Linked DNA regions of Homo sapiens: all the other regions are linked to region 1. The links are contacts of gene promoters, found by promoter capture Hi-C in blood cells and fetal thymus (Javierre and others, 2016). All regions are on one chromosome and are shown on one strand. The core of a region is centred on a gene start or on the middle of the fragment in contact, and the rest is flanking DNA. Distances in the headings are between cores, read along the strand shown.

What was found. The method cuts DNA at HindIII sites, captures the fragments that hold promoters and counts their contacts. A CHiCAGO score of 5 or more calls a contact.
Region 2: a fragment that was not itself captured here is called in contact with the fragment with the promoter of RREB1 in region 1 in 1 of 17 cell types (naive CD4 T cells); the score reaches 6.3 in naive CD4 T cells.
Region 3: a fragment that was not itself captured here is called in contact with the fragment with the promoter of RREB1 in region 1 in 1 of 17 cell types (activated CD4 T cells); the score reaches 5.6 in activated CD4 T cells.
Region 4: a contact is called between a fragment that was not itself captured here and the fragment with the promoter of RREB1 in region 1, in 5 of 17 cell types (monocytes, erythroblasts, M2 macrophages and 2 more). The highest score is 6.9, in monocytes.
Region 5: a contact is called between a fragment that was not itself captured here and the fragment with the promoter of RREB1 in region 1, in 3 of 17 cell types (fetal thymus, erythroblasts and monocytes). The highest score is 5.5, in fetal thymus.
Region 6: a fragment that was not itself captured here is called in contact with the fragment with the promoter of RREB1 in region 1 in 1 of 17 cell types (monocytes); the score reaches 5.4 in monocytes.
Region 7: a contact is called between a fragment that was not itself captured here and the fragment with the promoter of RREB1 in region 1, in 3 of 17 cell types (M2 macrophages, M0 macrophages and erythroblasts). The highest score is 9.6, in M2 macrophages.

The regions. Positions count from the first base shown.
Region 1 is chr6:7,106,175-7,109,488 of GRCh38, forward strand. It overlaps RREB1 (ras responsive element binding protein 1), which reads left to right and starts at 1,787. Exons shown (of 13, transcript NM_001003699.4): 1 at 1,787-1,886. RefSeq lists an enhancer at 596-655 and silencers at 1,006-1,485, 1,546-1,765, 2,556-3,045, 3,066-3,155. The HindIII fragment of the contact is 7,744 bases long and covers 1-3,314 here.
Region 2 is chr6:6,608,319-6,611,632 of GRCh38, forward strand. The region is part of intron 1 of LY86 (lymphocyte antigen 86); the gene reads left to right. The region is part of intron 1 of LY86-AS1 (LY86 antisense RNA 1); the gene reads right to left. Among named protein-coding and RNA genes, the nearest start is that of LY86-AS1, 13 kb to the right of the region's middle. The HindIII fragment of the contact is 1,073 bases long and covers 1,100-2,172 here.
Region 3 is chr6:6,652,929-6,656,242 of GRCh38, forward strand. LY86 (lymphocyte antigen 86) reads left to right here. Exons shown (of 5, transcript NM_004271.4): 5 at 1,616-2,054. The coding sequence ends at 1,699. Among named protein-coding and RNA genes, the nearest start is that of LY86-AS1, 32 kb to the left of the region's middle. RefSeq lists a silencer at 929-1,119. The HindIII fragment of the contact is 4,773 bases long and covers 1-3,314 here.
Region 4 is chr6:6,675,485-6,678,798 of GRCh38, forward strand. No RefSeq gene overlaps it. Among named protein-coding and RNA genes, the nearest start is that of LY86-AS1, 54 kb to the left of the region's middle. The HindIII fragment of the contact is 3,069 bases long and covers 295-3,314 here.
Region 5 is chr6:6,704,563-6,707,876 of GRCh38, forward strand. The region is part of intron 4 of LOC101928004 (a long non-coding RNA gene); the gene reads right to left. Among named protein-coding and RNA genes, the nearest start is that of LY86-AS1, 83 kb to the left of the region's middle. The HindIII fragment of the contact is 2,232 bases long and covers 593-2,824 here.
Region 6 is chr6:6,769,467-6,772,780 of GRCh38, forward strand. The region is part of intron 2 of LOC101928004 (a long non-coding RNA gene); the gene reads right to left. Among named protein-coding and RNA genes, the nearest start is that of LINC03055, 110 kb to the right of the region's middle. The HindIII fragment of the contact is 3,307 bases long and covers 1-3,263 here.
Region 7 is chr6:6,788,784-6,792,097 of GRCh38, forward strand. The region is part of intron 2 of LOC101928004 (a long non-coding RNA gene); the gene reads right to left. Among named protein-coding and RNA genes, the nearest start is that of LINC03055, 95 kb to the right of the region's middle. The HindIII fragment of the contact is 7,184 bases long and covers 1-3,314 here.

The DNA.
Region 1 (3,314 bases), core at 537-3,036:
ATATCAGACCTAAGGGTCCAGCTGCTTTTCCTTGGTTCTAAAGAGTTCTATTCTGGCCAGGACCCATCCCGAGACAGACACTTCTGTCTGCAGCCCTGAAAACTAGAGGTCAATGGAAGGGCTCAAATTAAAGGCCCACAGTTGGGCTTACAACTCTCCATGGTGTTCAAGCCTTCTCAGAGGAGCTGGTGTGGTGGAGCCAGGGTCAAAGGTCATAGTAAATAGAAAGTAGCCAGCTTTCTGCCTGCATAACATCATCTTGCCTAACCAGACTCAAACGCTTAATTCTACTGTAGTATTCTTTGGACATTCTTCTTTAGAACTACGGGGGCGGGGGGGGGGGGGCGTGTTTATTTTCAACAACCACAATCATCCTTATCTTTCTGAAGATGTTTCCAAAGGCTGAGAACAGACCCCTTTCAGAACCTCGGTAGGAGAAGTATTAACAGTTGGAAACATGTCAGCTGCTTTATGGAGGAAGCACAGCCCAGGCCTGGTTTCTCTGGGCTCCGTGATAACTTGGGGCAAGGCAGCCAGTGCGAAGCGTGGTGGCAGGAGCTGGAGAGATGGAGAGCGGCTCGGAGAAGGGCCCCTGCTTTTCAGAGTTGAAACAGGAGCCCTCTGAGAGAAAGAGATACTGCGTGTGGCTTCTCTGAAGCCTTGGAGGGCGACGTGGATGACACAGCATCAGCCATTCCATCGCGGGGTGGGGACACAGTGGCGGCAGGAACCGTCCTCAGCCCCTGGCGGCCACGGCAGTTCCCCGCTGAAGCATCCTTTGTGGGGTGTGGGTAAGGGAGGGGGACCAAAGTCGGGTCGGAGTTGAGTTTGTTAGACGGCGAGCACACTCAGGGCGGCAGCCCGAGTAAGAAGGATGGCCCCGGGAGAGAAACGGCTCGAAGCTAGGGGCGGGGTGAAGCGCCTGCTCCTTAATCTCCTGCCCCATCATCCACTCGCCCCACCTGGATGCAGAGCGAGGACCGCGTGGAAAGGAAACGGCGCGGGCGGGGCTCCCCCTCGCAGATGCCTCGGAGACCCAGAGGGGCGGCGTCAGGCCAGGGCCCCGAGCCCTACGCCCCCCATCCCCCCAACTCCAGCGCCTCTGAGGTGCCCCTCTCGCAATTCCGAGGCATCACCGTGTCTCCCCCGCCTCCGTTAAAATAGTGAAACTGCGGAGTGAAGTGATGGAAAGCCGGGGGCGGGGAGTCGCCCGCGGCGAGGGGCTGCAGGGGAGGGGGCGCGGTGGCCGAATAAGGTGGCCCGCGAGCAACGGGACGATTGGGATCGCAGCCAGTCGCGGCCTCCCGGACCCTTCCCCTCGGGCAGCCCGGCCCTCCCATGGCCCGGGGCGCCTTGGGAGGGCGTAGGGCAAACCTGGGGCTGCGGTGGGGGGTGGGGAGGGGACTCCACCTCCATCCATCCCGGGATGGCAACTGCGGTCACCCTGCTAAAGTCGGGGCGGGGGCGGCGGTCCTCCCCCTCACCCCCCCCAGTCCGAGCGCCGCCGCCGCCGCCGCCGCCGCCGCCGCGGCCGCTCAGTAACACGTCCCCAGGAGACTCGCAGGAGCAACACGTGATGTGTCTACTTATCAGGGTGAGAGGGGGAGAGCGAGACTCCGAGCGTGCGGGCGAGGAAGCTGGGCGGGGGGCCGAGACGGGGGCCGGGACGACGGCTGGGGCGCCGGGGTCGCCAGCTCCTCGCCCACCTCCCTCCCTGTGGGAGAAGAGGAGGAGGGGAAGTGACTGCGGAGTTGATGAACTTTGCACATCCAGAAACGCCATTTTGATTCCTTTTCCGGAACAAGTTTGCATCTCTCCTCGGTCTCTCCCTGAAGCCCACCGGTCCCCAACGCATCATGCCAGGGAGCCAAGCGTCCTGCCCGGCCGTAAGTACGTGCCCCGGATTCCGACTCGCGGTACGCCGGCGGCAGCGAGAAGTCTGGGGCACAGCCGGAGCGACCTTTTAAAGAACTTTGGGGATGGGGAGGGTGAAGTCTGCAGAGCGCGTTGTACTTTTGAAACTCGGTGTGTCCCGGAGCCGGGGACCCGCACGCCCCACTCCGCGCAGCGTGCGCTCGGGCCGGCGGGGCGGCCAGGGATGAGCGGGGCAGCCCTCTCCCCTCGGGCTGCGCGCCGGGCCATTCCTCCTCCTCCTCCTCCTCCTCCCCTTCCTCCGCTCTTTTCCCTTTCCCGAGCCGCCGGCTCTGCCAACCAGCTCCCAGCGCGAGCCGCCGCAGCGCCCCGCCAGCAGGACCTGATGCGCATCCATATTAGCCGTCCGAGCGCAGGAATCCGGCCCGACCCGCGCCGCCGAGTTTATTTTTAACCAGCACCGCCGGGACTCGGATGGTGCGCGCACCGCCGGCCAGAAACATCTTCCCAGCGCTGCTCTCCATCTTCCGCCCTCTCTCCCTCGACATCCTCCCCCCCATGTGGGAGGGGAAACTTTTCTCCTACATACTTTCGAGTCCTTCTCGGGCCGGGAAGCGCGGAGATGACGGCGCCCGCCCTCCCGCCGCCGCCCTAAGGTATCCGGGGGTGCCTGCCCGGGGTGCTCGCGCGGGGGTGCCTGCTCGGGGCTGCTCGGTGGGAGCATCCGCCGCGCCCTGCTCTGCGGACTTTGAACCTCCCGGGCGGACGGCGCCGGCCGGGAGGGGGCCGCGGGCAGCCCCGCGCCCTCGCGGGTTCCCGGCTGGCGGTCGTGGTCACGCCGACCACCGCCCCGGGGGGCCTGGGGAGGAGGGGACCGGGCCCTAGCCGTGCGGGCACGTATTGTTCCCTCGCCCTTCCGTTGGCGGGGTGAGTGTTTTCGTGGGAGCCCTCGGTGTGGAGCTAGCCTGCCTCGCGGGCGGGGGGGGTGGGGGGCTCGGCGCCGTCACGAGCACAGGAAGGAGGCCGGGAGCATCCGAGGCGGGGCCGGCCGCCGGGGCCCGCTCCGCCGCCCAGCTGTGGAGCGCGCTCGGAAACTTTTGTCCGCCGCCCGCTGGACCAGTTTTTCACGAGTTCTGGGGCTTCCCTTCCTCCTCCCATCCCGGCCCCCGGCGTCTAGCTGGGTGGGGGGAGGGGGCCTGTTGCTGCCCCCCCCGCCCCCAACTTCCCGCACAAGCCTTGGGCCGGGCCCCCCGCGCCCCCTCCCCGCTCGCGGTCTCTTAGGAAACTGCGACCTTAATGGTTGCTAAGGAGCAGGGGAGGTCCTTCCCGTCGCCGACCCCCTCCCTGGGAAGCGGCGTGTTTTCTGGACCGGGCCAAGGGCGCGTCGAGGATGTGACCTGCTCCGCGGCCGCGCGTGAGTGCGGGGCGCGTCGGCCGAGCCC
Region 2 (3,314 bases), core at 386-2,885, 500 kb before region 1:
GGACTAATTTATTACATTATTTCAAGAGATAGCTAGCATGCATCGCGTTACTTAATTCATTTTCATGGAGGTAGAGTACATCATTATACGTATCGACTACAATTGTGTCCCTCCTCCTTTTGATAAAAATTTAGGTTGTTTCCACTTTTTTGCAATTACAAACTGTTGTGAATATCCGTTATTTATGTCTCCTGTGTCAGAAAATGTTTACCGGCCCAGTCCTTTTTTTCTTTCTCCAGTTTTCAGCAGCTTAAGCCTGGGCAAAAGTATTTAGACTAATTGCTCTAGTTGTATCAGTTTTGTCCAGTAATGTTTCCATGCACACTAACAGTTTTTAAATGTTCTGAAGACACATGAACAGATGGCAAAAAAAGGCTGAACAATATCCAAACGGTTACAGCAATGGTGTTACAGAGAAGGGCATAGCGTTGAGCCAGGCCTTCTTTAAACTTTGCTGTGAAGCAGAAGAAACTCACACGTGGTGTTTAACTTGTGTGCAGGTCTGCGGGGGAAGGACGGCTGTGATTGTTCAACGGGTGAACTCTTCTCCTTTATTCATCCGAAATCCAATTTCCTGTCTTATTTTTCATGGCAGCTTGCTATCTTTCAATATAATTCTTTTTATATCTTTAGCAAAAGTATTTTTTATTCCCCTAATCAGGAAGGGAATGCTAGGGTGTGTTGATTCTGGAGGCAGAGAAATGAGTCCTTTCCTTGGTTAGGAATGTATTTTGCTGGCAGAGAGACCAAGCCAACCGCAGCTCTGCTTTTCCCCTCCAGCATCCACCTGTAAGAGCTTGTAATCTTTTATTGTTCATGGCCCCGGGATCCTATTCCCGGATGGTCTATGTGAAATGAAGAGAAAGTACAAGCAAGTTCAGATTTCCCATAGAAACACCTCCCTCCTTCCTGTCCAGGAGAGCTCTATTGCAGAGTTGGAGCATCCAGCAGACCCACCCTGGCTTCATCTCATTGACATAAGAGATGCAGAAAGAAATGGCGAATTGGCTTTGGGAATGAAGAATTTGACTTCCCTGGTTCCAGTTCAAGACATACGGGTGGGAACTCCCACTGGGTATCCACTCTGCTTTCTTGGGAAAGCTTCACGGTATCTTTAGGAAGGAAGCCTGGGATTCCACACCCTGGAGATACTGGATCTCTTATTCTCTATGCACTTCCTTACACACTTTCTCTTCCTTCAAGGGCCTCTCAGTTGAGGCACTACTCCACCTTAAATCCAGGTGGCCACATTCAGAAGCACTGTCACGCTGGCCTCTCAGCAACATGCTAACACAGAAAAGGAGGCTGTTTATGAGTCAGCTCTGCCAACAGGATTGCTTCCTAGGAAAAGTGCAAATTGATTTTTTTCCTCCTGTTGGTCTGCTGGGGGATTGGAGGCAGCCACGGACAATTCATTAGCACATGTAGGAAGGCCAGGGAGAAAAATAAGCTAAGTTGCTCTCATACTAGAAAGCATTTAGGAAGCAAACCCATAAACATGGATAATTATTGTGTGTCCATTAAAATTTAAAAAAAAAAAAAGAATTCGTGCTTGTTCTGTAGGCCTCTGTGTATGGCCAAGATTGGCTACAGGGCCCTGAACATTGCAAGAAACGTTTGCACTGGCAAGGAAGGGTGCTGGCCTCTATTTTTGTAGAAACAGGGTCTATGTTGCTCAGGCTGGTCGTGAACTCCTGGGCTCCAGCGATCCTCCTGCCCAGGCCTCCCAAAGTGTTGGAATTACACACATGAGCCACCACGCCCAGCCAGGATCTGTATGGTGGTGCTTATACGCAGTAACCCTGCATAGAACTACAAGAGCGAACACGTGCGTGCGTGTGAAAACCGCTAAAACCTGAGTACAGTCTGTAGAGTACACCAGTGTCAATGACTAGGTTTTGATACGTGGTTCTGTAAGATGTTACCATGAAGGGAAGTGGGTGAAAGTACACAGGGCACCTCTGTACTCTTTGTGTAGCTTCCTATGTCTATCATTATTTCAAGATAAAAAGATTTTATTTTAAAAAAATGGCCTGAAGCTCTTGAGCCTGAGGCTACGCATCTCCCTCTGCCTTTATGACCCACAGTGCAGGCCCTGAGCCCCCAGAGTCTGGGCTCCACTGCCCTGGCCTCTGGGGCATCTGAGAAGCCTGGTACAGGAAGGAAGCATGAAGCTTAAAATAGTGCTCAGTTCCTCCTTTTACAAGTGAAGAAACGGAAGCTTAGGGGGGGGCAAGGTGAGTGCTAGCTGATGCCCTGATTTACTGCCTGAGTTACATGGAAGCTTCTGTCCCTAGGAACATACCAAGACAGTCTGCCCTAAAATGGTCAAGCTAGAAGGCCAAAGCGAGGGAGGGCTGGGGTTTTGTTTTGTGGGGTGTGTGTGTGCATTCTCATGTGTGTATTTAAGGGCTGCAAAGGACATACTGGTTTTGATGTCACACTATGAGCACAAATGGTGTAGAAATTCTATTCCACAACATGAGCGATGTTCAGCAAAGTCAGTAAGAAGGTGAGCATGTCTGAGCTTACCTGCAAGATGAAGGCCTGTGATGACGGTGGAAACTCTTTCTGACCCCAGCAGCCACAGAAATTTGTATTTTGCCAAGGAAGGCTCCTTCTTTGAAAATATATAGGAAGAAGACAGAAGTCTACCTTTCTGATACCACTTTAAGCAATAGAGGAAAAGAAAATTATCTTGTTTTTCCACTGTCCTTCCAGGGGTGATTCTAGGACCGTTAAGATCTGGCCGTGTCTGAGCAAACACCAGCCACCTCCGACCTCCAGCCTTTCAAAGAAACAAGCTGGACTGTTTGCATTTATATGATTCAAAATGAAGGTCACAAAAGCACAACTGACTTGATTTTATGAAGAGCTTTTGTTGACAAACGTGAAGTTCCCAGAATACACAGTCTTTGGGACTTGAGTTTTTTTGTATATATTATTCTCTGTGCCTGAGTTGGTAGAAAAGAGCCTACATAACATAGGCTCCTACTCCAGCCCAGTACAAGGTTTTCAACCTGCACACTTTCCATAAACCCTCTCTGCCTCAGTTTTCCCAATTCTAAAACACGGATGATAGCATCTCTCTTAAGGCTTTTGTGAGGATTTCAGCTAATACATACGTAGGGCTCAGAACAGGACCTGCTGTGGAAAGAGCTATAGAAGTGATCACTGTTATTACACTCATCTGTAATTACTGCAAGTATTTGGAAATATATAGGAATATACTTAAGATGAATGGACACAAAACCGCCTCCACAGCTTCCAAGGCAAAGCGCTGCTACCTGTCCACCGTGTGGCAGTTCCTGTCA
Region 3 (3,314 bases), core at 317-2,816, 450 kb before region 1:
AATGCACATAGAGATTTTAAAGAAAAGTACATGAGGAGGAAGAGAACGATGAAACACAACGAGATATAAATTTGAGCCGGTCTTTACTCATAATTAATTCTCTAACATTTGGACTGCTTTGGTTATATTCCTAACACTATTTCTAAAATTACAGCTGCTCAATATTTGAGGAGTGTGACTCATGGGAGCGTCTAGAATCATGGAATCACACCCAAGGCACCATCCAGAGCACAGCCTGGTTCTCTTGAATACAATTTCAGTGTTGGGGACTCCACTCTCTTTGGAAGCTCTGCTCATTGCTAGAAAGTTGCTCCCTTCTAACAAAAGCCACCTTTCATGCAGCTTCTCTCCGGTGGTCTCACCTACTCCTTCCCTCTTGCTTTATACAGATTAAACTCTTTCCTCCTTTGGGTGACAGGCAGTTCAAAGATGTGCCAGCAGTCTCCTGGCCTCCTCTGCCACAGTCCCTCTGCTCCGCTTGCGACCCTCCAACCACCCCAGAGCATTTTCCTCTCCAGATTCGTGTCTACAAACACATCACCGCTCCGTGGCTGCTGGGGTGCAGGACTGGGGTGCTGGCAGCAAACAAAACCAGAATGGCTCTTCTACAGTCCTCATAGGACCTGGCTGCCAGGTGGCTTCTGCCAAGCTGACTGCAAAGGAAGGGAGACCTCCTTACAGTGTTGCTGCCAGCAAGGATCCCCAAAGGCAGCCATTCTTTCTGTGATGGTGCATTTTGGTTTTGTGCTGGTGAACTGTGCTCCCCGGGGTCTTCTCTGTCTGAGCATACAAACCTTTCTCCTTCCAGTTGCTCAGGCCAGGAGCCTTGGAGTCACCTTTAACCCATTTCTTTCTCTCCCACCCACTTGCGTTTCCTCAGCGGATCCTATTGGCTGTTCTTTCAAAATCTCTCTGGCACCCAAAGCCTTCCCCCACCTCCACCTCTACTCCAAGTCATCTTCATCTCTCACCTGGATTCCTGCAATCGCCTCCCATCTGGGCTTTTCAGTGAGGCAGCCAGAGGGATCTTACCGACACAGGCGCCAGGGCAGGCCACCCTCTCCTGACCAGAGTCCCTTTCAGAGTGGAAGCTGATGTCCCCACCATGGCCTTTGAGGCCCTAAGAGTCTGGCCTCCTGTGTTGCCCTTACCTCACCCCCCCCATCCCCCCACTCCCTGCAGCCCCACTGGCCTCCTTCTGCCCCTCTAAGGTGGGGGCCCCAGCCCATAGCAGCACTGCACCTTCTTGCATCTGCTTCAGGTCTTTGCCTAAATGTCGTCGTCTCAGCAGGGCCTCCTTTCACCACCCTGCTCAAAATTGCAGACCAGCACTTGCCTTGACCCATCCAGTGCTTCCATCCACTCCCTTCCTGCATGAGTTTTCTCCATGACATGAGCACCTGACACACCATACATAGTCACATATCATAAGGGTGGTCTGTCTCTCCCAGAGATGCTGTCAGCTCCACAGGGCAGGGGTTGGCTTGTCTTGTTCTACGTTATCCACAATGTCCAGAACAGCACCCAGCACATAAAAGTTTCTCTGTAAATATTTGTTAAATGGTTAATTGTACTGTGGGTCACACGTCTAATACTTGACCTGTGCCCCTTGCAGGGAGAATACCAGGTTTTGCTGGAACTGTACACTGAAAAACGGTCCACCGTGGCCTGTGCCAATGCTACTATCATGTGCTCCTGACTGTGGCCTGTAGCAAAAATCACAGCCAGCTGCATCTCGTGGGACCTCCAAGCTCCTCTGACTGAACCTACTGTGGGAGGAGAAGCAGCTGATGACAGAGAGAGGCTCTACAAAGAAGCGCCCCCAAAGAGTGCAGCTGCTAATTTTAGTCCCAGGACCAGACATCCCCAGACTCCACAGATGTAATGAAGTCCCCGAATGTATCTGTTTCTAAGGAGCCTCTTGGCAGTCCTTAAGCAGTCTTGAGGGTCCATCCTTTTTCTCTAATTGGTCGCCTCCCACCAGACTCACCTGCTTTTCAACTTTTTAGGAGTGCTTCCTCACAGTTACCAAGAATAAAGAAAGCTGGCCACCATTGTTCATTGTGGTTTGTTCAAAGAATCTTACTACAATGCTGTAGTTAAAAAGTCATTTCCTCCAGATACAGTGCCGGATGCTGGTGCAGCATAAGCAGTTCCAAGAAATTCAGGAGGGTGACAGCCTGGCTAAAATTAGAACACTGGGAAAATGTGCCATTGCTTCTCCTGGGCAGGCCCCCACCCTTGGACCATGAGGGCCGAGAAGCTGATGCAACCTCACGAATAGGGACATCATACTCTCGCTTATCCAAACATTCATTTCACCTTCATCCCTCAAAGCATGATTACACTTGACCTCAGCATATGCTGGCGTTCATTACTGCATTCATTAATGAATGCAAGGAATAACTCCTGAACACTTAATGTGTATCAGGTGCTGTGTTCTTAAGTTGTCTTCTACGATGCTCTCCGTAAATGAGCATGTTGCCCATGCTACTTCCAGAGCCATTTCTGCGGCCCCGTCTTCTCTCCTGGGATGCACTGATCGCATGGTGGGCTGCATAGCCCCTTCACCATCCGACGCCCCTGTCCTTCCAGTGTCCCTGCTGGCCCTCTTGCTCCTGCTAAGGGGCTGGAGTAAGGTGGGTGAGTTGACACTATCATTCATAAAAATGCCACTATATTAGAGATTAAAAGAGAAAAAAATTCCATAGTTTAAAAAACAGTAGTTGCTATTAATCACTGTTTATACATCAGTAAACCACCTAGAATAGCAGGTCAAAAATGCCTGTCAAACTTTAAAACCAGCATCTGAGGTTTTCTGGGTTATGAGCAGGCAAAATTGCAGCAGCGTCCTTGCCTAGGCCCATAATGCTCGAGGGAAAAGACGTGCGTGGTCATACTAGGCTCAGGAGCAAACCTCTGAACGTACATGGGGGTGACGGTGTTACGCACAAGAATAGCAAATGATTCCTGCCCCTGGCCATTCCCTCTAGCTTGAGACATTCACCTCTCTCCCTTTTCAGTAACCATCACCACAAGTAGTAAAGTCCCTGGCTAGACTCTGTGTACGCACATGTTCTAACAGTACAAGACAGCTGTCACAGCCTTCCAAAGACACAGGTGGAACTCAGCCAGTCCCTTCCCAATCCCTTTGCCCTCTTCTTTAAATTGACTGTGTGGGTGCGTGTGCGTGAGAGAGAGAGGGAGGGAGAGAGAAAGTTTCAGATGCTATAGGTTTGTGTTAAACTGGAATTTCCATATATGGAGACTATCCTAGTCATAGCTGAATATACAAGTACACAGCCGTTTCACTA
Region 4 (3,314 bases), core at 579-3,078, 430 kb before region 1:
CTCACCTGTGGCTTCTGCCTTTTAGTCCAAAATGGCTGTTTCAGATCTAGTGATATCATCACATTCCAGCCAGCAAGAAAGAAAAGAAGGCAAGAAAGTGATAGCCCTCTTCTTTTAAGGACCCTTCTGGAAGTTGTATATACAACTTGTACATATTGGCCAGTAGGCCACCTGAGAAGACTGAGGGCCTCAGTTCTTTCCTAGCTGTTGGCTGGAGGTTGCACACAGTTTCTCATTACATGGCTTTTTCAATATGGCAGATTGCTTTATGAAAACAATATTCAGCAAGACCCAAGCTTCAAGGGGGGATGAGAAATGTAATATTTGCTCTCAGTTTCTGTGGTAGCCATGAAATTATGCCTCTCAGATGTCCGACTAAGGAAACGTAATTGTCTGAAGGCCCCAGCTGCTGTCCTCTGGAAAGGCTGAGGGAGGAGGGTTGCTTGACTTAGGAAGTCAAGGCTGCAGTGAGTTATGATCGCGCCACTGCACTCCATCCAACCTGCTTGACAGAGCAAGACCCCATCTCTAAATAAATTTTTAAAAATACAATCCGCCAGGCACAGTGGCTCACTCCTGTAATCCCAGCACTTTGGGAGGCCGAGGCAGGCGGATCATGAGGTCAGGAGATAGAGACCATCCTGACCAACATGGTGAAACCCTGTCTCTAGTAAAAATACAAAAATTAGCTGGGTATGGTGGCACACGCTTGTAGTCCCAGCTATTCGGGAGGCAGAGGCAGGAGAATCACTTGAACCCGGGAGGAAAATATTGCAAGGAGCAGAGATCGCGCCACTGCACTCCAGCCTGGCGACAGGGCAAGACTCTGTCTCAAAAACAAACAAACGAAAAACCAATCTACTCCAAAAATACTATTTAAATAACAGAAAAAGCCTGTTTCTATTTCTGTCAATGTATGTGTATTGCATGTATGTTACAAATAATCCTTTTCCTAACTTAGAACTTATATTTCTACAGGGTGAGGGCTTATGTATAAAACCAATATAAAATAATGAAGAGGAGAGATACCAAATCTTACATCTTTTCCTTGTACAACCTGAAGACATGCCTCAGACCCAATAATTTTTTATATTGCAATTTTCATTTTAATTCCTTAATTTTGTACTAATTTTCCAAAATGTTTGGTAGATTTCCCTCAATATGCTAAGAGGTCAGCTTAAGAGAATGGGCAGGGGGTCTTGGAAACTCAGATAAGGGCCTTGACACTTATTTTGGGCAAAGCTAACACTGAGTCACAGGGTTGTTCCAATGAATTATTTTCCCTGTTGCCTCAGATGAGAAAAATTCACTCTGATTTTATTTCTTATTCTTGTGTCTGCTTTATCATCACAGTTAATATAAAATATGCCAATAAATACTCTATCTAAACAATAAGTCTTCTCATTTCCTTTTTGCGCCACACAGAACTTGCAGAAAATGGGGAAAACGGGGCTACCTTTTCTTAAACCAGTTTGCCCAGGAAGCCCATGCTGTGTAGTTCACAATTTCAGCCAGGAGGTGGCGGTAGTAACCAATGGCAAAATCCTGAGACACTGCCTCTATCAGCTTCTCATTGTCCTGCGGACGCTTCCTGGATCTAATCTGATGCTTATGAAAGTGATTTCCTTCTTTCGAAAACACCAGGCCCAAACAAAAACTAACTTCATCCTGCAGATAAAAACTGTATGTGCCTTACAAGTTGTCAGACTCCTCCAGACCTTCAATCAATATTTTCCCAGCAGCAAAATGCAGCTGCACATTTTAGGAAGCAGAGTGGGCAAATTCCTTCTGCGGAAGCCCATGAACCATCAGGCCTCCCCCTCAGGGTGGCAGGAAGGTGTGGAAAGGGGGACTAAGCAATCCAAGCTGCTAGACAATCCGAGCTCCAGGGAGGCCAAGCACATTCCCCCAGTTTGTGCAGGAAACAGCAGGGAACTGAAAAAAGGGTTCTGTTGAGATGAGACTGATGTTCCCAAGTCCTGAGTCCTCAAACCGAATCACTTTCCGGCAGCAACACCTGTCTTTAGCATGCAAACATCGGTCTCATAGAGTCTTCCCTGAAAGATGTTTAATGATCATGTCATTACTGTCACTCTTTTTTTTTTTTTTGAGAGTGAGTTTTGCTCTTGTTGCCCAGACTGGAGTGCAATGGAGCGATATCAGCTCACCCCAACTTCTGCCTCCCAGGTTCAAGCGATTCTCCTGCCTCAGCCTCCCGGGTAGCTGGGGTTACAGGCATGTGCCACCACGCCTGGCTAATTTTGTATTTTTAGTAGAGACGGGGTTTCTCCATGTTGGTCAGGCTGGTCTCAAACTCCCAACTTCAGGTGATCTGCCTGCCTCGGCCTCCCAAAGTGCTGGGATTACAGGCGTGAGCCACTGCGCCCAGCCACTGCCACCTTTTAAACTACAGAAGATGAGTGTGCCTGCTCAGACAATGAAGGACTCTGAGGGATTTGGAGAGCCACAAGGAGTCCAGACCTTAACCTGAGGGCAACAGCACCATTAAAAGTTTCTAAGACAAGGAGGAACACGGCTCCACCAATTTACAATGGCTAAGAAGAAAATAAGCTCGTCGGAAGGCAGGAAGTTGAGTCAATTTTCTATCCATGAATCTCAGCATTAGGTTGTTTTTATTGAACTTCTGATAGTACATCTTGAAGAATGCTAAGGAAAAGTCTAGAAAGGTGCTCTTAGTCTCCTTTCTCTACTGCAGAAGCCCTTTGTGATCTCCAGGGGAAGCAGCCCCCGTTTCCATATGGTCCCAGGGAGACGAACGACGGCAGAACATTTCATGTGCTGTGGAGGCACCTAGCTTCAGAATGTGAAAAAGTAACCAGAGCTCTCAAACCTCCCTTTCCTCATGTGTTAAATAGGGATAATAGTCCTTACGTCAGGGTTGTTGGGAGAGTGAAATGAGATCACATATGTGAGTCACTGACCTACAGTAAGTGTTTGGTAAACAGTAGTTATCATGGGCGGAGGCCTGACCTGGGAAACGGTCGGCAGGCACAGTAAACTCACCAGCAGATGCTAAAGGGAGCCCCGAGGCTCATCATACCCACCACATGTACACGCATACACACATACACACACACGCACTCATGCACACACACAAGCAGGCACAGAGCATCCCTCCTACATCTCACACATGCCAGGTCTTCCGGGAGTCACTTCTGTGCTTCAGCCAAGATGCCCTGGAAATTTTCCTTTTCTCACCTGCATGAAAATGCTTTTGAGGCCCCCCAGCCTCCGCCCGGAGTTTAGCCCCTTCAGACTCTGCACCCCTGGGGGTGGCCCTGACCCACCCACCC
Region 5 (3,314 bases), core at 459-2,958, 400 kb before region 1:
CTCTGGGCATAAATGAGCACTTATCAAATCCACGAGAGGCAAACAGCCATCTGCAGGCTGGCAGAACTGTCTGCAAGGATTTGCTTGACACAGATCTCTGGCTGGGCTCATGGTATCAGAGGTCCCCAGGTTTATTGTTTTTAACGATCATTTTTTTCACCACCTAAACAGAAAGACCCTGTAGTTGAAAGCAAGAGGAAGCAACAGAGAGAGGCAGTGAGAATCAAATGGCTCAGTTAAGCCTCGGTGTGGCTGGGCTAACGCTTTTTCAGGTCACTCTTACAAGGTAATCCATTCGCCTGAAGAGGCATGCAGCATCTTGAAGGAAGGGAACCGTTGTGGCTAGGTGATTGGGTGGAATGGCATTCCCTCTGGAATCTGATTGCAGAGCCTGATTTCCAGCTTGGTCCCCTGGTCTTCTTTAGCTTTTGACTTCCAAAGTCTTATTAGAACTAGCTAGGTGGCCCCTAGATTTATGTATCCACTTTTGTCAAAAGCAGGCTACGGAGATGGAGCCTAGTAAGGAAAATAAAGGTAAAGTATTATGGCATTCACTCATTAGGGACAAGATGTCCTCTGGTGTACGTCACAAAGCTTTCACCTGCAAGTGACACTCAGCTCAAACCACCTTTAAAAACAAGGATATTCTAATCTCAGATAAGAAGTCCAAGCAAGTTCCAAGGAGATTAAAACCAGTGGTTCAGTGTTGTTGTCAGGAACATAAATTCCTTCAAGCTCTGGGCTCTACCATCCTCAGAACATTGGTTTTGGCCTTAGGCAGCTCATCCCATGTTTCAAGATCCCTCAGCCCTCCTGGTTTCATAACCACATCGGCAGAGACCACTTCATGGTGACCAACCTGTCATGCTGCACAAGGCCTTGTGCTTAGAAGGACCCACACTTGGCTTAGTGCTCTACCATCACCGTCTTAACATCCTTAGTCTTATCTGTGAACTTGTGTTTTACGAGTGAAATCCTATGGGGACAGTGGAGATGCATGTGAGCAGAGGAGATGTACGCAGTATATATGTCCTCCTTTCCTGCTGTCCTATGTGCAGGTCATGTTGGGGATCCCCATAAGCACAGAATTCCAGGGACCCACGAAGCATGGGAGTCAGTGAGACAGACTCAAAGCCAGCACATTAAGCCCACAACCAAGTAAGTGGCAGCACTGACAGCCCTAAGAGGCCATGCTTTTTGTCCAAATCAGAACTTGCTCTGAACACAAAGAAAATAGAGCTCTAAGAAAACACAGAAGATCAAGCAACCCTACTCTATTCTTTTGAACACGTGTTACTTCCTCGTATTAGACAACTACTTCCACTGAAAATGATGACATAGGTTGGGTATGGTGGCTCATGCTTATAATCCCAGCACTTTGGGAGGCTAAGGTGGGCAGATCACCTAACGTCAGGAGTTCGAGACCAGCCTGGCCAACGCGGTGAAACCCCGTCTCTCCCAAAAAATACAAAAGTTAGCCGGGCGTGGTGGTGCACGCCTGTAATCCCAGCTACTCAGGAGCTGAGGCAGGAGAATCACTTGAACTCAGGAGGCGGAGGTCACAGTGAGCCAAGATTGCGCCACTGCACTCCAGTCTGGACAAGAGCAAAACTCCATAACAAAAAAAAAAAAAAAAAAAAAAAAAAGAAAATGACATAGAAGGAAAGACATAAGTGGTTGGCTAATACACCTTAGTGAACTATTTCAGAAGAAAATTCAGCACAATTCCAGCCTATAACTCCAAAAGCCTCAATTTCTTGCCTTGTTCCTGTCCCTTGATTTTTGTCCCCTCTTCTTTCATCGACAGAGCAGAAGGTCAACTGCCTCAGGTGTGTGCAGTCACTTACTGGCCCTGGAAATGTACATCCAGAACAGAATATTATCTTCCTGGCAGCCGTCCCATTCAGCCTGTGCATGGAGCTGTCCCAAGACCTGAGCCTTCTTAGTTTGGTGATGCTTCACTATGGCTTCAACTCTCCAACTTCTGCCCTCCAAGACCATAGTGATAAGAAAACAAAGATCAACTACCCCCGAGCTGGGAGGAGGACTCCTTTTTTCTCTGTACAGCCTTTTATATGTTTAACTTGCTTACCATGTAATATGGATAACCTATGAAAAAGATTTCACGTGTATACCTTTTTAAATCACTTACTCTACTTGTTTGTGAAGACAAAAATAAATTTAAAAAATGCCACAGACTTCTTGCAAGTTAAAGAAAAAAATTCAGCTTCCTGTGTAATAAGAAATATTGTAAGTCACACTCGTAGTCCGAGCTATTTGGGAAATTGTGGTGGGAGGAACACTTGAGCCCAGGAGTTCGAGACTGCAGTGAGCTATAATGGTGCCCACTGCACTCCCATCTGGGCAACAGAGCAAGGAATCATCTCTAAAAAATAATAAAAATAAAAATAATTTTAAAGATTAAAAAATATATTTAAAAGAAATATCACAAGTGAACTATAATTCATCCCAAAAGAGAATATGGATCTTTTCAAAGAGCAACATCAAAATGTCCAAGGCTAGTCATCATTTCTTTCTTGAGAACATTCATAAGCCACTGCTCACCCCTGGACTCCATTTTAAAAACAGATGCCACAGAGTTCTTCACTGCTTAGCCCATTCTCACATCACCAGTCCCCAAGCACGGACCTCACCCCTGGCCAGCCTTCCGGCATGCCAGGCCTCCTCCTCCCTCAAGCCCATGCGGAAGCAGGGAAGTGGGTCACACAGGGAGCCCATGCTATGGGTGGACGTACCCTGCCGACGAAAGTGGAAGGGCAGAGGTGGAGTGGTTTCTTCTTCCTTATTCCTTTATATTCTGTTAAGCTTTAGCAACTCTCTCAACTGACTCATGCATGGACTTGTTCTAGAAGAAACTGTTAGAGGCAGCAGAGGTCTGAAGGTGCTTTAGTTCCACCCCTAGATGAGAGTGACAGTCCCAGACACCCAGCAAGTTGGCATTAGAACCAGAGCTAGAACCCAGAGCTTGTCCCCAGCCAAGTTCTCTTTCATCTGCAATATCTGATTTCCCAGAATCATCCTTCATGGTGTGTTCTGGACCAATTTTTTGTCCAAAAACTAGACAAAAAGATAACTGTTTCATTTCTATTTCTACACTACAGCTCATACAATTTAAAGGAAGGACACTGCTGTAAGAACCATCCTCCATCACCAAAGAAAACTGGTTGAGTTCTTTTTATTTATTAAATAAGACTGGAAAGGGTCATTGTCTTGATCAGCGTTTCTATGCCTTGACACTGCTGACATTTTTGGTGGGATCATTCTTTGATGTGGGGACCATCCTATGCACTGCA
Region 6 (3,314 bases), core at 360-2,859, 340 kb before region 1:
GGAAGTCAGTTGAGAGAAAAAACAAGAGCAGATGTGTAAGGAAAAGCAAAAATGAGAGGCCATGTAGCCTGCGAGAGGCCACTGGAAAGGATAGCTGCCATGGCATCCAGGAGGTGAGGGTCCTGCTCTTGGCTCTTGGGCTCCAGAGGCCCTAAGCACTCATGCCTGCTGAGTGTCCTCTCAATTGGCCAGTGACATTAATCTGTGATACTGTTGGCTGGGTCAACAGGACAGTCTGTAGTGTGAAATGGAAAATTCTCTGCAACCTCATCTGGCCCATTGGAAGCCTTGCCATTAACTATCTAAGGTACACTATCAGGCAACAAGGTGGGAGAGCACAAGTAGGTTCAACTCTCCAGATCCTTATTCCCAACTCCTTCCACCTGTCTTACCATAAGGTAAAAGCTCAAACCTCAAGGTAGTCTACAAAATGCAGCTAGAATTGTGGGCTTTCCTGACTTTTAAACTAGCTGCTTCCATGTGTGTGTGTGTGTGTGTGTTGCACACTCACAGCTGAATTGTAATTTATTCTCATTTGATTTCTTGGTGTCAGTCTGTAGAACCCCAAACCTGAATCATGGTGCCTATGCTATCCTTTTCTCACAACTCACCCTCTCTGTGTGAATTTGATTTTCAAATCCACTAGTGTTTTGAAATGTCTGAATTATTCATTCAGAGAAGCAATGCACCATGCACCAGACACCAAATTACTTTCTATGATACTTAGTCAAAGAAAAGGCCCCCTTTAAAAACACTTAATCTTAAATCTATCTAGTCTCAAGGAAGGAAAGTAAGTTCATATTCAAAATCTGTCAAGTCCTAAGTTGCCCTGGGGAAGTAAAAGCAAATTACAAAAACTGTTCCAGGGATTTGTCCACACTTGTTCATAGCTGCATTATTCACAATAGTCCAAAGTGGAAGCAAACCAAGTTTTTCTCAACAGGTGAATGGATGAGCAAAATGTGATCTATCCACACGATGGAATATTACTCAGCCTTAAACAGGAAGAGAATTCTAACACATACTAGAACATGGATGAACCTTGAAGAAATTACACTCAGTGCAATAAGCCAATAAGTATTTGTCACAAAACGACAAATACTGTATGATTCCACTCATATAAGGTTCCTAGAGGAGCCAAATTCAGAAACAGAAGGTAGGATGGGTGTTGCCAGGGGTTGAGGGAAGGGGCAACTGAGAGTTATTGTTTGATGGGTACAGAGCTTCAGTTTGGGAAGATGAAAAAGCTCTGGAGACGGATGGTGGTGCTCGTTGCACAACAGCATGAATGTACTTAACGCTGCTGAACTATATGCTGGAAAATGGTTAAGATGTTAAATTTTATATTGTATGGAAGCATTACAAAAAGTATCCTGTAAAATCCTTTCTACCTGCCCACATACGTCTTCATGATAAGAGGCTTTTTTTTTTTTTAAGTTTACTTTTAAAGAATGGAACTCAGATAAGAAAAGACCATTTGGGCAGGGCGCGGTGGCTCACGCCTGTAATCCTAGCACTTTGGGAGGCTGAGGTTGGGGGGTCACCTGAGGTCAGGGGTTTCAGACCAGCCTAGCCAACATGGTGAAACCCCGTCTCTACTAAAAATACAAAAATTAGCTGGGCATGGTGGCACATGCCTGTGATCCCAGCTACTCAGGAGGCTGAGGCAGGAGAATCGCTTGAACCCAGGTGACGGAGTTTGCAGTGAGCTGACATCGTGTCATTGCACTCCAGCCTGGGTGACAGAGTGAGTCTCCATCTCAAAAAAGAAGAAGAAGAAGGAGAAGGAGAAGAAGGGGAGGAGGAGGAAGAGGAGGAGGAAGAAGAAGGAGAAGGAGGAAGGGAGGGAGGAAGAGGAGGAGGAAGAAGAAGGAGAAGGAGGAAGGGAGGGAGGAAGAGGAGGAGGAAGAAGAAGGAGAAGGAGGAAGGGAGGGAGGAAGAGGAGGAGGAAGAAGAGGAAGAGGAGGAGGAGGAAAAGGAAGAAGAAGAAGGAGGAGGAAGAGAAAGAGGAGGAGGAGGAGGAGAGACCATTTGGGAAAGGTACAGGACCACCCCATTTGCTTCTCTGGACATAGAATACCAGCCAAGGAAAAGTTAGCACCAAAACAGGGTCAATTGATTTTGTTCCTTAAATTTGATGTCCCTCCTCATCCAACTCCTCTGCTCTCCACCCAGCACAGGCAGAGGTGACCAGTTCTTGCCCCAGGGCCTGTGCTGATGTCTGGCAGGACTCTGGAAGGAGCTTCCTCCTCCCCTTGGAGAGCATTGCCCAATGGCAGGTGGAATGAAAGGAGTTTTGTCTGAGATGTGTAGAGTAAAATCCTAGTCACATGCACAAAAATTTTCATGAATAAAGAGCTTTCATCAGAATACATTTGGATTTTGAAACAGAAAGTTGAAAGGTCTCACCACGTTTCTCAATGCAAAATTTGAAAGTGTGCTTAAAAGTCTTCCTTGTTGCTGTTGCCATTACTTAAATATGTTTATTTCACTCTGCTATTGCTAGAGATGGATAATACCTCTGAATGTGTAAGATTTCTAAATGAGCATGCTTCTTTTGTAACCTAAATCTCCCCAGGTTTTACAGCCATATGGCGCTCCTCTTCCTTTAATAGTCAATTAAATATATGCACGCTATAATCTCACAGGACGGCACAGAGACCAGCAGTCCCAATATTAACCATCCAGGGAGGGTCTGGTCCAGGCAGTTTTTTGCGTTGCCTCTTGCTACAACACCTGACTCCAGCTTGGTGCTGGAGAGCCTTAGGCCTCTGCCCTCTCTTCATAATAACCTGGTGCAAACAAAGCACCTCTCTTCCCACCAGATTCCCCAAGATGATGTGGCATTATGCATGATGGCCAATGCATGAGTACAGGGAGAAACTCGAAATAGAATATCAGACCTCTAGTTCCTAGAAATCATTGCCAATTTCTTGGCACTGGGTCCAGGCCTCTTATCAGATTGCTGGGGTCCTCACCTCTCTCAAGTACTGTTGCCCTATACCTTCTTCCCTCTGGAGGCCCCAGCCCCTTCTCTTTAGGGCTGCCAGAGGGGAATCACAGAATTCTCCTTCTTTTGTGCTGAGCCATATACCTTGCTAGGCTTCAATCTCTTCATTCACATTATGTTTTAAGCCCATTAATGTATTTTCCTGATAAAAGAGACATTTGCCTTGGTTTTTCACCATAAGCAACCAAAGACAAAAGCAACAGAAACATTTAAATTATGTTTTTATCAATTTAAAATTTTTCTCATGACTTCAAGCTTTTCCCAAACGTTATCTTCCCAATGAGGTTTACAATGGCCGTGCTGT
Region 7 (3,314 bases), core at 605-3,104, 320 kb before region 1:
CAGAAGCCAGTGATCAGGTAGCCTGTTCACTGCGTTCCTACAGGTCAGCCTCTTGGGAGAATGCCCAGGGTGAGAAGAATACATCTGGAAGAGGCAGATGGTGTCCAGTAGAGAGAGACAAAACTTCATCACCGGAAGATGCCAAATGTCTCAAATCAACACATCAATAAAAATTGCCGTTCTCCTATTACATGTAGAATTGAACTGGCTAACATTTGGAAGTGGCTGCCTCTGGGGAGCAGGAAGAATTGGGAGAAGGTGGGCAAGAAAACGCTGTTTTTCATAAATCTTAAACTAGTTGATTGTTAAAATATTTATGTATATTGCCTGATTAGGAAAAAATAGCAAAATATTGTAAAATGTTAAAAGCCAAAACAAACAAACAAAAAACAAAACAAAACAAAACAAAAAAACCTCAGCAGGCACAAGGAGGGGAAGAAATGTGCCAGCTTTGTCACTAAGATAGACCCCATGGATTTGAATCTGTCTAGCTGTGGGGCCCTGGGTCACTCACTTTCCCTCTCTGGCCTTAGTTTTTACAGCTGTAAAACAAAAATAGCATTTCCAACCTCAGAGAGATTTGAATGAGATGATGTATAAAAGCATTTGGTACAAAACGAGCCCTTAGATAATGAGATGCACAGAATAAAAAAGAGAGGGAGCGTGTATGAAAGTCACTAAAAGACAATAGATATCTTTATCATTGGTTTGCTTCTGTCTTTTCTACCTTCCCTTGAAACCTCAACAGCTAACAGAGTCTGGCTCATGGCAAATGCTCAGTGAAAATCTGTTGGAGGAGAGAGTAGAAGACAGCCCTAGAGGACTTTTCTGCCTTACTCCTCCATTTGCTGTAACAGGCCAGATCCAAGGGCCTTGGGATCTGCCTCTCAAAGTTTCACCTTGAGCCTGCCCTTGCAGTCAGTCACTCCCCTGATAGCCCCAGCCCACCTCCTGGCTGCCCACCTCCCTGCAGCTGGCTCCTAGACCATCATAACCCTGTTTTGCATGTGGAGCTTCTCAGAGTCATGCCCCATCCCTGAAGCATCTCCCAGCTTGTATACACATTCCCTCCACTCATCACTCTGGAGCCTTTTTTGTGGGATGATGAACCAAGTAAAGGAGCCGGGGCTGGTCCCTGTGGGACTGGTACATTGGAAAGACTGTTGATGCTCTGCCAATGGCTTCACCACAAATGCCCAGGGATGCTTTTTCAACACAGTGATGGCAAGATTGAAGAAGCACAGTGAAGCATAGAAGAGACCCCTGTGGCTCAGTCACAGGGTCAGAGAGTCAGGCCGTCCTGACTGCACCCCTGCTCATACTTCCAGGAGTGCTCCAAGGACAGGTTCTGATTTCACCTTCATGCAGCTCCCTGGCCACACATGCTTCTCCACTGGGTGCAATGCTCTGGTGGGAGGAAATGAAGTCCTTTGAATTCTTTACTCATTAATACCTATTCCCCATGCGGGACACATTTTTATGGCCTACCAGTGGCCAGTCCCCTTTCATTAATAACAGAACCCTCGTGTATGGCAGTGAGTGCCCTTTTGCAGTCATAGACCGTGGAGTCATCATGTGATCAAGGCCTGCCTCTAGGGAAGGTCCCTCTCCCTGATGAGAGAGGTTCAGGGGGAGGAAGCCCTTTGCCAAGTCTCCCTCGTCTCCTGCTTGGGTTTCCACGGTGTGCGAGGAAACATGGTGGTCATCTTTGACTAGAAAGCAGGATGTTGCTGACACGCCAAAAATGGTAGAGTAGTAAGACAGAAAGAGCCTCCACCCTTGGGGTTATCACAGAGCCACAGAATTCACCCTGGGCCATTCCTAGTGCTCTAAGTCAAGGGTCATGGGATCTTCAGCTGGTTGCAGCCCAAACAATCTTTAATGATGCAATGTGTACACCATCAACAGAGACATCAAAGTCAGTTTCGTTGCTCTTGTATTGCCTGAGAGATGTGGATGCCTTTTTGTCAAAACTCAACCCTAAACTGAGGGCATTCTTATTTTTTGTTTATTTATTTATTATTATTATTTTTAGAGATGAGGTCTCGCTATGTTACCCAGGCTGGACTTGAATTCTTGGGCTCAAGCAATCCTCCTGCCTCAGCCCCCTGAGTAGCTGGGACTATATGCATGCACCTCCATGCCCAGCTCAGGACATTCTTGCAAGGGCAACTATGATGTCTGTGGGTGGAACCAGATGACTTTGATCCCAAGAAAGGGCTCAGGCAGTCAGGCATGCACATTTGCAGCCTGAAGGCCACACACAATGATAGGAGGCAATGGAGCTTACCTTCCTTCCCTGCCCATAAACCTGATGTCACCCTGTGAGTCCTACGGATGTGAGTCACTTTGCTCTTATGATTCTGAAAGAGGGTTTGTGGAGAGGCTTCCTCGGGAGGCTGGAAAGAGAGGGGCAGGTCTCTTCCCTGCCATGATGCCAGCAAGCACTGCAGAAGTGGGACCCAGCAAGTGAGTCTTCCTGGGCGGGAGCAAAAACCTTCCTAGTTGCTACCTTTGGCCTAGTTATATGGAGAGGAGATACCACCTGGATTCTATCCTTTATCTCACCAGTGGTGCCTGGAAGGCTTCAGATTTGCAGCGTGCTTTGAAATGGTTGATTTTCTTCCTAACAGACGGGTACAAGAACCCCTCTTCAGTGCTTCCAGAAGAAATCATGTGAAAGAATACAGTCAGCCCTCTCAGGATAATGGAGACAAGTTCTCACATATTGGTGGGCACACGCATGACCTAGGGAGCTTGTTTAACAGGCAGGTTCTGGGCCTCAGCACTAGTACTTTAATTCAGGAAATCGAGGCAAGGGCCCAGGAATCTCCTTTTGAAATAAACCCTGCATGTCCTTCAACACAAGGTCATCAGACCATTGAAAAATAGATAGAAATGATTGAAATCCATTGATTATTCAGGAAGTTTCATTTTGGGCAATGATCTTTTCTCCTTTTTTTTTTTTTTTTTTTTTGAGACAGGGTCTCGCCCTGCTGCCCAGGCTGGAGTGAAGTGGTGTGATCACCACTCACTGAAGCCTCACCCTCCCCGGCTCAAGCAATCCTCCTGCTTCAGCTTCCTGAGTAGCTGGGACTACATGTGCACACTACTACACCCCACTAATTTGTTTTTAATTTTCTGTAGAGGCAGGGTCTCACTATGTTGTCCAGGCTGATCTCAAACTCTTGGCCTCAAGGGATCCTCCTGTCTGGGGCTCCTAAAGTGCTGGGATTACAGGTGTGTACTTGAATGTTATCCATTAACTCTCTCTTCCCAGCCCCTCCTTCCTCAAACCCTATATACCTCACCCA